2 separate regions of the Homo sapiens genome follow, and region 1 is linked to region 2. Evidence: promoter capture Hi-C in 16 types of primary human blood cells and fetal thymus (Javierre and others, 2016). All regions are on one chromosome and are shown on one strand. Each heading gives the region's core, a stretch centred on a gene start or on the middle of the fragment in contact. The rest is flanking DNA. Distances are from core to core; before and after follow the strand shown. Region 1 has its middle 13 kb from the start of NXT2. Region 2 holds the start of TMEM164 (transmembrane protein 164).

Region 1 (7,097 bases), core at 3,559-6,058, 450 kb before region 2:
ACTGGGTATATATCCAAAAGATTATAAATCATGCTGGTGTAAAGACACATGCACACATGTTTATTGTGGCACTATTCACAATAGCAAAGACTTGGAACAAACCCAAATGTCCATCAATGATAGACTGGATTAAGAAAATGTGGCACATATACAGCATGGACTAATATGCAGCCATAAAAAAGGATGAGTTCATGTCCTTTCTGGGGACATGGATGAAGCTGGAAACCATCATTCTGAGCAAGCTATGGCAAGGACAGAAAACCAAACACCGCATGTTTTCACTTACAGGTGGGAATTGAACAATGAGAACACATGGACACAGGGTGGGGAACATCACACACCGGGGCCTGTTGTGGGGTGGGGGGAGTGGGGAGGGATGGCATTAGGAGAAATACCTAATGTAAAGGATGAGTTGATGGGTGCAGCACACCAACATGGCACATGTATACATATGTAACAAACCTGCATGTTCTGCACATGTACCCTAAAACTTAAAGTATAATAAAAAAAGAAAATTAAAAAAATATATATGTCAGCAGACTTTTTTGGAGGGGAATGAGAAGAAGCAACAGCCAGCCAGGCATGGTGGCTTACGCCTGTAATCTTAACACTTTCTGAGGCTGAAGTGGGCAGATCACTTGAGCCCAGGAATTCGAGACCAGCCTGGGCAAAATAGCAAGACCACTGTCTCTACAAAAGTAAGTTAGCAGGGCAAAATGGCATATGCCCAGCTACTCAGGAAGCTAAGTTGGGAGCATCGCTTGAGCCCAGGAGCTCAAGGCTGCAATGAGCCATAACTGCACAACTGCACTCCAGCATGGGCAACAGCAAGACCTCATCTCTAATTTTAAAGCACAGTAATAGCTCTTAAAATTAAATATCATATTTTATCTCTTCAAAGATGCATGTATTTTTCACATTTTAACATCTCTGGAATTGGTACAGATCTTAAATTGATGCCATATTATAGTTGTGTCTCATTTCCCCTTTCTCAGTGGTAAAGTAATGGTGAGTCTTATAAACAATGGCATCTTAGGAGTTTTGCCTAGATAAAAATGGCTAGGAATCTACTTAGGTCTAAATTTGTAGGCGTTAGTGGAAGTAAAAGGCTGTAAGCTTACAAGACTAATAATTCATGACTCAAACAAATTCTGTCACCATGCCATTTGTATTTCTTGAGTAGCCCATATGGCTGTAAGAGCCACAGATTCCTCAGTGAATTTGAGTCATGGTAACATTTTCATACTTTTTGGAAATCACCTAGTAATGTATAGTGTATCTATAAAGATAGCCCCAGTAAGGTTCAAGGATAAGCACAGTGTTTGGAAAAGGAGCAGGAAGTCAAAAGCCAAGAAGGTACTGTGAATTCTTTTCTGAAATTTTGATGAATTCACTATTTGCCTGAAATTGGGCAGGAAATTTGGTAGAAGGGGATTCCATTTACTGATTTTTGTTATAAGCCTGTGTTGTCCTTCCTGTCCTATGTGTGCTTTAACATAACCACACATATTTAGGGGAAAATGGTAAGGCATTTTTGGCTTTTTGATTTTGTAGTTGGCTCTGTATAATAAAAGTATTTCATCGAAACACTTTTTTCCAAACTGCTGTATTCTATTAATAAATGCTTACCTTTTGCCAAATGCAGCTTTCTTTACAAAAGAGTTCTCAGTGACTCTCAGTCAGCTATGTAGGTCAGTCTAGCTTTCTAGGGAAGCAGTAAAAGGTAGAAAAATGTATTGTTGGAATAATGTGTCAGATGGAGGGGTCTTAGGACACAACATAAATCTGGGATTGTGGTATATGCATTCTTTAGAGAGAGAGCTTTCAAAATTTTCACTATGACCCACAGTGAGAAGTATATTTTACATCACAACCCGGTATACAGATGCACAAGTAAACCTATATATGTGGGTGTATGTGTGTGTGTGTGTGTGTGTGTGTGTGTGTGTATAATGTCCAAAATAAAACTCACGTTTACCACTTGCAGTGTGGTCCTTGCATTTTCTATTTCATTCTATTATTTTTTTTAAATGCTGGTCATAAGTTGCTCAACTGATTTTTTTACAACTTCCTAACGGGTTGTACCATCAGTTTGAAAAACACAAAAATAGATCAAGCATATTTTCACTATCACTTTTGAGTAGGGGTATAGGGCTGGCTTCCAATAGGTAGTGCCATATATCAATGATGTCACCCTGACTTAGAAGTGACCAAAAACTTCTTTCTCTTCTCAGGTTTTTCATATTTGTTGAGGGCCATGAAGGGCAGCAGTGTTTGCCTCCCGTTCTTTGGTTTGCACGAGAAGTTCAGAGCTAAGAAAGCAAATGTTTACATAGTCTTTAGGCAGAGTCTGGGAATAGAATGAGCGGCAATGAAAAGGAGTTGAAATGGAAGGAACTGTGCTATTTCAGGTGTCCAAGGAAAGAAGTGAGAAGGCTTTCTAGCAGGACCACTTTTGAACATGATCTGATATTATGTAAGCTGTATTTTGATAAATTTTAAATTTCATGTGTTTTTTTCCTTTTCCTCCCTCCTTGAACACCCCAAACATCTACATATCAACTCCCCTTGTTTGACAAAGGCTGTGGTGGTCTCTAAGGTGTAATCCTGGTCCCAGACCCAAAGAAGACCTGTGTTCTAAGGCTGTTCTGCCCCTAATGTGTTTTGTGACTTTGCACAATTCACTTACTCTGGGCCTCTCTCTTCAGCTATTGAATGGAAATACTATTTGTCCTATCTGGCCCACCAAGTGGTTGTGAGAATCAAATAAGGCAACAAACGAAAATATTTAAGTGCCACGTGCTACACAAATACAATGGTTATAGTTTTTGGCTTGATGATTGGTTTCCTCCCTTCCAAAAATTCTGGTTTTCTTTAAGGGTAAAATCAATTGAGAGTGACTGTTTCCCGCAGCCAGACACTCATTCTAAACCTTGCCCCTGACTTTACCAGGTAGTTGTTAAACCAGCTCCGCAAAAAAAGTCTAAGATTAGATTTATAGAGATGGTTATTTTACTGTTAAAAAAAAAAAAAAGGATTCAGGGCCCTAAAGGAAACGATAGTAATTTTGCAAATGTATTTTCAAGTAGTCTTTCTGTAACTAGAAAAACAAAATTGACTGTAACATTATTCATTCCAATTCTCTTGCTCAACGGCAAGAAATTGGCAGTAGATGCCTGCAACACTTAACCAAGCCCAGGTACCACGGTCTGACTTGGAAACCTGAGCTGCCTGAGGTAGCCAATAAGCACTTTGTTTTCCTGACTCTTTTTTTTTTTTGAGAGGGGTCTCGCTCTGTCACCCAGGCTGGAGTGCAGTGGCCTGATCTCAGCTCACTGCAAGGTCCACCTCCCAGGTTCGCACCATTCTCCTGCCTCAGCCTCCCGAGTAGCTGGGTCTACAGGCGCCCGCCACTGCGCCCGGCTAATTTTTTGTATTTTTAGTAGAGACAGCGTTTCACCGTGTTAGCCAGGATGGTCTTGATCTACTGACCTCGTGATCTGCCCGCCTCGGCCTCCCAAAGTGCTGGGATTACAGGTGTGAGCCACCGGGCCCGGCCGTTTTCCTGACTCTTTTTTGTTGTTTCTGAAAGAGCCTCTGGAAATGATTTTTCTAAGGTACTAATCCGTCCATCTGTGGCATCCAGGATTCCCAATGGTCTGGGCTCAATCTCAGACCTAATAATTCACTGGCTTTGGATGTTGCTGAGGAGAAAAGACAAGCCTGGGAGAAGGGATGGAAGGAGTAATTAGCTGGGGGAAGGTGAGGGAGAATGGTAGGTAGGGACAGTTGGGAAGATACTGCTTTCCAAACAACTGAAAATAAAAGGAGAGGAAGACGGGAGAGAGAAACTAGGAAAAACAGCCTCCCCAGACAGGTAATTTATAATAACTGGGAGGAAAATGAGAACTGCAGCTAAAAATATGTATACACTCACAAATCCCTGGAAGGCCAGTGGCAAAACTAGGAACTAGGAGACTTCCTACCTCCATGCCCCTTTCTCCCATCCTTCTCAGGCCCTATATTGCTATGCTTCCTAAGGCCCACACTGTGGTAGACTCTAGACCTAGCCTGCCCTCTTTTCAAATCCCTCAGGCCTCACCCTCTCCTTTCGAGCTAAATCTGTTAACTCATTACTTTGGAGGCAATAGGCTTTTATCTTGGGGTTGTTGCATTTTGGCTGGCAGTATCTGGAACAATACCATAACTGAAAGGAATATTTCATTAGTCTTGGTGTCAGAAGCGTTTGAACCATAGCAACTCCATCTTGAGCAGTGGCTGGGTAAAATGAGGCTGAAACCTGCTGGGCTGCATTCCCAGGAGATTAAAGCATTCTAAGTCACAGGATGAGATAGGATGTCAGCACAAGATGTAGGTCATAAAGACCTTGCTGATAAAACAGGTAGCACTAACAAAGGCGGCCAAAACCCACCAAAACCAATATGGTGACAAGAGGAGTAACCTCTGGTCATCCTCATTGCTACACTCCCACTAGCACCATGACAGTTTGCAAATGCCATGGCAACGTCAGGAAGTTACCCTATATAGTCTAAAAAGGGAAAGCATGAATAATCCACTCCTTGTTTAGCATATAATTTTTTTAAACATAAAAATAGGCAACCAGCAGCCCTTGGGGCTGCTCTGCCTATGCAGTAGCCATTCTTTTTATTTCTTTACTTTCTTAATAAACATGCTTTCACTTTACTCTGTGGACTCCCCTCAAAATCTTTCTTGCTCAAGATGCAAGAACCCTCTCTTGGGGTCTGGATCGGGAGCCCTTTCTGGTAACATTTTTCTGGTGAACCCCAAGGGATGATACTGAAGAAACTCGTGACCAAAAGGAAAATCATCTGTGCACACCAATTGGCCGACTTTGGGTAAGTGAGGTGCATATACCTGGGTAAAGGATGGGATTGGGTTAGAGGCCCAACTTAGGGGAGTTAGAGTCTCTCCTAAGACAGAGAGGGTTAAAGGGCCCTCTCAATAAAAGGCAACAACGCTTGACCAAACTTGGGTTGGAGGCCCAATTGAGGAAGGTTAGAGTCCTTCCTAAGATTTAGGAGGTTAGAGGACCCTCTCAGTAAAGGTACTCTCAGCTACGAACAGGTTTGGCACTATGGGATGTTAACGGCTATTCTCTTTGAATTAATCTACCTTGCAGTCTGCTGATGGCTGTGGGTGACAGGATGAGGCATGTATGGGACCATGGGACATGGGGAGCTTTTTTCTCCCTAAAAGGGGAAACTTGAGAGCTAATGGGACTGCTGGAAAAGATCCCTTTGCAACCGACAAGCAGCTGCCTGAACTTTTCAATCACGCTGGGATGGGTGGATCTTTCTTGGGCCTCTGTGAGATGCTCGCCTTCCCCACCCTGCCGCAAGCAATGCTTCTCTCTCTCTCTTTCTCTTTCCTGTCTTTTCTATTACTCAGGGCGACCATCTTGCCCAGAGACCACATGTTGAAAAATGTCCTTGGCAGATTAACCTTGTAACCACATGGCAGTACTTTCTCTTGGTCTCTGCCATCACAATAGCAGCCTGGGTTCAATTCCCAGCTTAGGGAATGAGTACTTTCTGGTTTAATATCTGTGTGACCTTTGCCATTTGTTGGTTCTCTTTCCCTCCACTAACTGTCTTGAGTTTTACTTTCTCAGTGCAACTATTAGGTTACTTTTGGTAAAGTTCAAAAGCCAAAAATATCGGCCGATTGGCTTGGCTAAAAGTTGGGTAATACATTTTAATTTTAAAATTTTAAATTTTAAAAGGACTCTTTTTTTTAGAGTGCTGTGGTTAAAAGTCAGCTTAATTAAAAGCAGATATTCTAGCTCTAATAGGTGGGGACTCAGGAAAAGCAGAGGAGGCACCACAGACCCTGCTTGGGGAAAAACCTCTGTCTTCCTCATGAAACCCCAGGAATTAAAAGTGGATAGATCCCTCTCAAAATCTAAGGCTTTGTTCTGTTTTGCATTGCATTATCTGACATTTTTAACTTTTGGGGGTATCAGAAATTACTTTGCATTATGAGAGACTTTTAGTGTGTAATAACTAGGTAGGAAGTATAGTTTTGGGAGATGGGCTGATTCCCCCTTTTTGGGGATCCAGGATCTGGTATAAAAATGGGACCCTTAATTTGAGGGGATCTGTTTTGCCTTCCAGCTGTGCCTGCTTATTATGCCCTAAAAACTGCATGCTTTCCTGTTTCCTGGCCCTGTTCCTCCAAGGGCTCCATCCTAAGCCAGTAATCCATTTAAGAAACTGGCAAAAGAAAAATCTTACAAGTACTGGATCTTCTTCTGTCTGTGTATTTATATGTGTTATGTCTGTGATATTTATATATGAAAGAGCTTTAATTAATTGGCTTAAAAATAATAAGTTCTTATTTTATCAGAAAAGTAAAAACTGTAATGCCTTTTAGTTCATGTGACCTAAGTAATCTTTGGGCAATAAAAACAGTTTTACATGCAAGGTGTGTAAGGAAAGTGAAATGTGTTTTTGGTAAAAGATTATAAGAAGTCATAGGAATGTGGATTTCTTGCCTAAGTTTAGAGGGCTAAAGGATTGTTTTAAGTTGGGATAAAACTGCAAGTTTGAGCAAGTTGTGGAAGATTTGCAAAAAATTAATTGTAAAAAAAATTCTGTGTGTGAACATATTTCCTAAAATTTAAAAAGGTATTCAATTTTTCCGTAAATTGAACATTGGAATAAGAGCACAACAGGTTTTTCTTAGAGCACTGAACTGCTCTTTCACAAAAATTGTAAAGGGTTATAAAAGGTTTATGATCCACTTTGCTGAGGAGGTGAGGAAAAAAAGTTTGTAGGAATCTTATGTTCAAACTGATTAAGATGGAATAAATTTGTCTACAAGGTTTTATTAAGAATTGGGGTTGACATTAATAGTACACTAGTGCAACAGTGAAATTTGTCTTATTTGGTATAAAAATCCTGCAGGAAGCATTGTCAAATATAAAATGATGTTTGGCTTTCTTTGGGCTGTATTTGTGTAAATATGTTATTGGTATGTGTTCCAAAATTATGAGAAACTCCTATAATTCTAATATGACTTAGTGTATGTTATTAATAATCATCATTGTTATGTAA
Region 2 (7,883 bases), core at 4,214-6,713:
TGGGAAGGTTGAGTTCGTAGAATCATAGAAGATTAATGCCAGCAGGTATTTTAGAGACCATTCTAGTCCAACCCTCTCATTTTGCTTCTGAGTACACAGAAGCACAGAGAGATTATTTTCCCCAAGGTTTCACTGAACCAAGCCTGGATTCTGGGTTCCGTTTTCACTGTTGTGCTTCAAGGATCTACTTAAAAAGCAAAGTTGATTTGCTCTTGTTACTGGTTGGCGACAAGAAAGCTCTGGCCTGTATCCCAGCAAAGATATGATCAGGACTTTTGCCTGCAGCTTTTGCAGTTCTAAATTCAACATACCATTTCACCTCAATTATTACCTGCCTTTTACTTATGGGGACAACAATCTCCTAGTGCTTATTTAGTGCCTACTAGGAGTTTGCCACTCTGCTAGGTGCTGTGGGTGGGGTTTAGAAAAGATTAAGATCCATTCCCAGCTCTCAAAGAGCCTGGTGTGGGAGACAAGAGTCACAATGAGAGAACAATGGAAGGCAGTATGTGATTCAGAATAAAATGAGTAGTGCAGGCAATAAATGCTGTACAAGTTCAGAGGAGGAAGAGAGCTCCAGGAGCTGAGGGAGGGGGATTGGGGGGAGTGAAATTTTACGTGGGCTTTGAAGGATGGTAGGATTGTTTATGCAAATGTGGGGGAGGGCGCTGAATTTGAGGTTGTGTGTGCGTGCACGTGCTTGGGTGTGTGTACACATGCAAATGCAGGGATGGGTAATAATAGGGAGCACTTAGTGAACACTCTCTATGCACCAGACACCACCTTATGGTCCCCAACATTCAGCTCATTTGACTGTGCATAACCTCATCAATTTGATAATAGTATCTTTCAATTAATAGATGAGGCAATTGAGGCACAGGGAGGTTGAGAGTAAATTGTCCAAGGTGACACAGCAAGTAAATAATATAAATGGGGTTAGATTCGAATCCATATCCTAAAAACACTTTGTTATTCTACTTGTAAACCCAGAATAAAATTTTAAGCCCCCTAAATGACTGAACAGACACACCCCCCAACACACACCCCCTACCTTGGCTAAGAGGACCTGGAAAGAAAACTTGAAAAACTAGCTCAGGCTGGCCAGATGCGGTGGCTCATGCCTATAATCCCAGCAGTTTGGGAGGCTGAGGAGGGCAGATTACCTGAGGTCAGGAGTTCAAGACCAGCCTGGCCAAAATGGTGGAACCCAGTCTCTACTAAAAATACAAAAATTAGCAAGGCATGGTGGCACATGCCAGTAGTCCCACCTACTCGGGAGGCTGAGGCAGGAGAATCACTTGAACCTCGGAGGCGGAGGTTGCAGTAAGCCGAGATTGCACCACTGCACTCCTGTCTAGGGGATAGAGTGAGACTCTGTCTCATGGAGGTTGGACTTTTTTTTTTTTTTTTTTTTTTGCTTAATGGGTATAGGAATTCTATTTGGGGTGATGAAAACTTTCAGAAATAGAGTAGTGATGGTTGCACATTGTGAATGTGATTAAAGTCATTAAATTGTACAATTAAAAATCGTTAAAACAACTAGGCGCAGTGGTTCACGCTTGTAATCCCAGCACTTTGGGAGGACGAGGTGGGTGGATCACTTCAGGCCAGGAGTTGGAGATCAGCCTGGCCAACATGGTGAAACACTGTTTCTACTGAAAATTCAAAAACTAGCTGGACATGGTGCATGCCTGTAATCCCAGCTACTTGGGAGGCTGAGACAGGAGAATTGCTTGTACCCAGGAGGCAGAGGTTGCAGTGAGCCAAGATGGCACCACTGCACTTCAGCCTGAGCAATAGAGCGAGACTCCATTTCAAAAAAAAGAAAAGAAAAAAATAGTTAAAACAACAAATTTTATATTTTACCACAATAAAAAATCATTAGAAACCTTGACAGAAACCATCACAAAATTTCCCATGTTCAAAAAACCTCAAGGACATTCTTCATTATACCCCCTCTCTTTGGAGTTTATGCACAATTGATCAGCATTCACATTAAAATAGAGATCATAAGACTGACAAAACAGACTCTTCGTGACAATAAAATACCAAATTCTAACCTGACCCTGGTATAGCACCACATGACAGAAAGCAGGCCCTGAAGGAAATCAAAGTATTTTACCCCAAAATACATTTCTTTGACATATGTTGAAATGGCCTTGCAAAGCTATCTCTTGTGGAGAAAATCTACATTCTATAGAGAATCTCCTTCCCTTTCCAGGTCCTTTCATGATCCAGGAGAGATTTAACTAAGAGTCGGACACGTTTTAAGGTCCAATAAGAGATTTTACATCTATTCTCTCTGAAGGTTGCTACCTGTAGGCTTCATCTACATAGCAAGAATCTTGGCTTCCACAATACCCGTTATCTTAAGCATTTCTTTCTGCTGACTTCAACTCTTTACTTTAAATAAAGCTTAACTTTTTCGACCAGTTGCTAGTCAGAAGTCTTTGAATCCACCTATGACTGTGAGCTTCCCCCAACCACCTGAGATGTCCCGCCTTTCCAGGCTGAGACCAATGTATACCTTACATGTATTGATTTATATCTTTGCCTGTAACTCCTGTCTCTCTAAAATGTATAAAACCAAGCTGTAATCCGACCACCTCGGGCACAGGATCTCAGGACCTTCTGAGGCTGTGTCACATGTCATGGTCCTCACATTTGGTGCAGAATAAATCTCAAATATTTTACAGAGTTTGGCTTTTTTCTTCAACATGCCTGTGAAAAAGGAATTTATGGCTCAATTTAGAAAACTGGCCTGGCTACAGTCATTATTAACCATAGTCATTGTTGCAAACTCGGGACAGTCTAGGCCAAATTCTCAACAGAAGCTCAGCATGGAAATTGGAGGGATTACTGAAGCCATTGGCTAAGTGCTATATCCTAATTCTTGCTTCCTTGAAGATAGCAACTTGAGGTTTTGGGATGCTGTATTCCATTGCTAGGTGCTCCCCAGCTTTGTCCTTAATGTTCCTTGGTTATGTTGCTGAGGATTTAACAAAACACTTAAGGAGAATGAACTAGTGAGCCTCTGAATCAAGCCTTGTTTGTTGTTGTTTATTAATTGGCACTTGTATTACTGGAAAGTGGTCTGGATGCAGACCCCAAGAGAGGGTTCTTGGACCTCTAGCAAGAATTCGGGGCAAGAAAGAATTTGGAGTAAAGTCAAAGCAAGTCTATTAAGAAAGTAAAGGAATAAAGAATGGCTACTCCATAGGCAGAGTAGCAGCTTGGGCTGCTCAACTGATAATTCTTATGGTTATTTCTTGATTATATGCTAAACAAGGGGTGGATTATTCATGAGTTTTCTGGGAAAGGGGTGGGCAATTCTCAGAACTGAGGGTTCCTCCCCCTTTCAGACCATATAGGGTAACTTCTGGACGCTGGTGGGAGTGACTTTTAGCATGCTAATGCGTTATAATTTGCATATAATGAGCAGTGGGGACGACCAGAGGTAACTGTCATCACCTTTTTGGTTTTAGTGGGGTTTGGCCGGCTTCTTTACTGCATCCTGTTTTATCAGCAAGGTCTTTGTGACCTATAATCTTGTGCCGACCTCCTATCTCATCCCGTGACTTGGAATGCCTAACTTTTTGGGAATGCAGCTCAGTAGGTCTCAGCGTCATTTTATCCAGGCCCTGTTCAAGATGGAGTCGCTCTGGTTCTAACGCCTCTGACACTTGGAGAACATCAGGCCTATGGTAGATGTTGTACAAAACTTGGAGTCAGACAAGGCTACCTGGCTGTACTTGTTCGGAAAACCAGACTTGGAAAAAACGGGAGGGCGATGGCCTGATAATACAGTAGATTGCATTTTATGTTTTGAGCCTGGCTTGCAGCCAACATCCAAAAGTGTTTCCTAGGCAAGGTGCCTAACTGTGTTTTTCTGGATATTCTTCTAACTCATCGTGAGTCTTCAATAAATATTAAATAAACATGAGGAAGGTCCTGAGAAGGTCCTTTTACTGACCCTTGTCTCAAGAAAAGCAAATAGCCGATCGGTAAAAAGCAGCAGGTAGGAAGAGGGGATTTTATTTCCGTCAGTTGCCCTTATCCAGGTTTTGGGCTTAGTGCTGCTCCTCCACACTCATATAGTCCTGGCTGGCTTTTCCACGCATAGGTTAGGAAGCAACTGCTCTGGGGAGGGGGAAGGGGGGAAGAGGGGGAGGGAAAGAGGTCACGGGAAGCCTCCCTTCCTCCCACTGGCCTACCATTGAAGGCCTGTCAGGAGAAAGGAGAGAAGTGGGAGAGGGAGAGGGTGTGGCAGGGGTGGTCTGTGTGGCAAGAGGTAGAGAGAAAATAGTGGATCAGAGCAGGAGGGGGAGGAGCAGGGAAATGAAGCTCCTGTCCTAGGCACTGAAGTGTGGAGTGGGGCTGTGGCTAGAAAGGGGAGAGAAGATGCCTTTCTGGCCTTGCATGAGTCGTGGCAGAAAGGAGGAATCGCGAAGAGGAGCCGGCCATACCCAGCACACACCCCGAAGCCAAGCTGCTCATTACTAGAAAGGCTTATTCCCCCACAAGAAGTTAGTGCGGGCCAGCTAAGTGCCTACTATGTGTGCAGTATAGAAAGAAGTGCCCTGGAGAACCAGGTCGCGGGAGGCGGAGCCAGTCAACAGGGCTTCACCGAGGGGGCGAATTCTGTACACGGTTGTGAAGGAGGGTGGCTGTGCACGCGTGCAGGCTCCGAGTGCAGAAGACGAGGCAGGCCAGGGAGGAGGCGGAAGGAGGCGGAGCCTGAGCCGGAGGAGGGAGGAGGAGGGAGGAGGAGGAGGGAGAGCCGAAGCCGCGGAGGGTGGGAGGTGTGAATGGTGGACGGGTGAGGGGAGTGCCAGAGGCAGAAAAGGGAAGGAGGCGAGGAGGAGTAGTCGTGGCCCGAGGGCGTGTGGTGGGGCGAGAGCTGAACTGGACGGGAGGAGGGAGGCAGTGGCGGTGGCAGCGGGGAGGGGGAGGAGAGAGGGAGGGGAAGAAGGAGGAAGCGAGCGCGGCTGCTGCAGGGGGAGGAAGACGGGGAGGAGGAGCCGTGCGCCGCGGCGGCGGCCGCCAGGGGAACCGAGCGCCCGGCGCGGAGAGCGCGGGAGCGGAGCAGTAGCCCGATCCGGGGCCGCGGGCCGAGCTGCCGGTGAGTGAAGCCCCGAGGGGCGCGGCGGCCGGTCCCCGGGGCTGGGCGGGAGGCGCGGGAGGTTGCGGCGCCGGGGAGGAGGGAGGGGGGCCGGCTTTAGTCCAGGGGCCGGCTTTAGTCCAGCCCCCGGCTGGCCCGGCCTCCCGCCTTCCCTCTGGCTTCCTCCCTCCGCTGCCTGCGCGAGGGGGGCAGGTCCCGGGCGGGCCGCGGGCTGGGGGTGGTGCTGCCCGGAGGGCGGGCGTCTAGGGCCGGAGGGTGGAGCTGGGGGTTCGGGGGTGTACCCGGGGGCGGGAGGCTGGACAAGGACGGCTCTAAATTGGCTGGAGGGGCCCGTCGGCGGCGAAGTTGCTAGCTGGGGGCAGAGACGGCCACGCGGTTGCAGGAGTAAGAGATCCCTCTGTGGCGAGTGCGTGAGACGAGGAGTCCGGCGTCCCTGCCATCCCCGTCGCCCTCCCCGCCTGCTCGGCCCCGCTAGCTCCTCTCCTTGCCTCCGCGTGTCCCCTAGCTCTGACCCCTTTTGGCTCCCGGTTCGCTGCCGCAGCACTGCCGGGTCTCCTTGGCCCCCGCCCTGACCCTTTCGGCCTCCGGCTTCCCCTGACCCCTGCTTGCTTCGCCACTGCCCCGTTCCCGTTTTCTTCCCTCGCTAGTTACCCCTCCCGCTTCCTAATTCCCGGTGCAATTGCCTCTTTGAGACCTCTTTTTTTTTTTTTTCCTCTCCTTCCTTTTAGATTGGCCAACGGCTCCTTTCAACCCTGCCTCGTTGGTGGCCACTGGAGAAGCGCGGGGGGCTCCCCCAGACAGCCGTGGGGACAAGTTAGAGCCAGCACTTTACCCCGGGCCTTGCGTGTAGCTTCCCCTCCCCTACTCTCGGTGCCCTGGTGTCTGGAGGGGGGTTGTGGGGGTGTGCCCGCCTTACATGGTCCACCACCCGGGCAACCCTCTGGGCTTGTGTTCCATCTCACTCTTGCTTCCTGTACTGTGGTCAAGGGGAACCACTGCATCATGTCCCGGTATAGCTACCAGAGTCTCCTGGACTGGCTCTATGGGGGCGTGGACCCCAGTTTTGCAGGCAATGGGGGCCCCGACTGTGCTGCCTTCCTCTCTTGGCAGCAGCGGCTGCTGGAAAGTGTGGTGGTCCTGACCCTGGCTCTGTTGGAGATCCTGGTGGCCCTGCGGCACATCCTGAGGCAGACGAAGGAGGACGGTAGGGGTAGCCCTGGCAGCCAGCCAGAGCAGGTGACCCAGCGGCCAGAGGAAGGCAAGGAGAGCCTGAGCAAGAATCTGCTCTTAGTAGCCCTGTGCCTGACCTTCGGGGTGGAGGTGGGCTTTAAGTTCGCCACCAAGACCGTCATCTACCTGCTCAACCCCTGTCACCTGGTCACCATGATGCATGTGAGTCTGTTGACTTTTTCCTGGGCATCCTAAGTGATAAGAGTCATTTATGTGCTCAGGACACTCCATAGTGTACAGCACCTCATCCCGGCGGGCAGGGGGACCTTTAAAAATGATTTTCCAACGAGTGGCTGCCTTTGTGCCGATTTCAGGTTTGGCTTTCTTTCACCTTTGCACAGTGCGTCAGCCCCACAGTGGAGGTGAGGAACCTTGTGCCTGAACCCTAGGAACGACTGGCACTCACCCTGGCTGCCCCTCCCTTCCAGCCCAGCCCAACCCTGCCGTGCCCTGGGCTTTCACAAGCAGGAATTCCAGCCCCAGCCAGGTGCCCTTTCTGAATCACATCAGTGGACCATGACCCAGCTCCCTTGCCTTCTGTGGTAGTTAATTTCCCAGGGGCCTGGTGACACTCTTTCCTGGAGGTGGTCGCATAAACTTTCTCATCTACACTGTGGTACTTTGGGGAAATACTTTTACAGGTTTCTCTTAATGACTCTTTCATTTGGGAGTGTATGCTCTTAGAGTGAGGTCTGCCTTTGCATTTTGAGGCATTGGAGCAGCACCAAGCTCCTACTAAATGAGTTCTGAAGCAGGTCCCCAGGCTGACATGTGTACTTTGGGCTGGTGATCACTATGGTGAGAGGGTATTTCTTTTTTTGCAAACCTCTCCATCCTATTACTGTCATTCTGTCTCCTATGGTCATAGTCCAAGGGTGCTTAGGAAGCTGATTTCTTTACCTCATCGACTTCCACCCATTAGCGGTGCTAAGGAAAACAAATGGGATTGAAAAGGCAAGTTGCCAGATACATAAAAATAATCTGGGTGAGGACCAAGAGTGAGACTGTCTGTATTCAGCCTGTGTGGAGAGATGTTCTAAAGCTATAAAATCATGGAGGAGGAGGAAGAGGAGACTGGGAGAGCAATCAGTCTTTTTTAGATTTCAGGCTGTGGAAAACCGGGTGTGTTTTATTCAGGGGCAGTTTTGAAACCTGTCATTAGCATCTTTACTGCCTTTATGTTTGTAGAAGGTTATTCTTTGGAGACTTGTGACAGCCTAGCTTGGGGCAGGAGGTTGAGATTATTATCTCCATTTTACAGGCCTGGAGGGGTTTAGGAATGGCAGGTCATTTGCTTGCAGCCAGAAGATGAATTAGTGCCTGGGTTAGAAAGCAAACTCATCCACCTTGAGGTTGCAAGCTGTCAACCCCAAAGTGAGGGTGGCAGTGGGTGGTGGGGCAGTCCTGTGGGAAGACTCAGGCAGATGAGCACCACACTGTCTACCCATGGCTTGGATACTTGCTTGCACTGTGTTCCTAGGAACTCATTTGATTGCAGGCTTCTGGATGTGGTGAATGACCCCAGCCCCTT

The links. The method cuts DNA at HindIII sites, captures the fragments that hold promoters and counts their contacts. A CHiCAGO score of 5 or more calls a contact.
Region 1: a fragment that was not itself captured here is called in contact with the fragment with the promoter of TMEM164 in region 2 in 1 of 17 cell types (neutrophils); the score reaches 6.7 in neutrophils.

The regions. Positions count from the first base shown.
Region 1 is chrX:109,546,670-109,553,766 of GRCh38, forward strand. No RefSeq gene overlaps it. Among named protein-coding and RNA genes, the nearest start is that of NXT2, 13 kb to the left of the region's middle. The HindIII fragment of the contact is 7,389 bases long and covers 1,115-7,097 here.
Region 2 is chrX:109,997,651-110,005,533 of GRCh38, forward strand. It overlaps TMEM164 (transmembrane protein 164), which reads left to right and starts at 5,464. Exons shown (of 7, transcript NM_032227.4): 1 at 5,464-5,528; 2 at 5,851-6,514. The coding sequence starts at 6,125. RefSeq lists a silencer at 4,709-5,568 and an enhancer at 5,671-6,326. The HindIII fragment of the contact is 10,429 bases long and covers 2,414-7,883 here.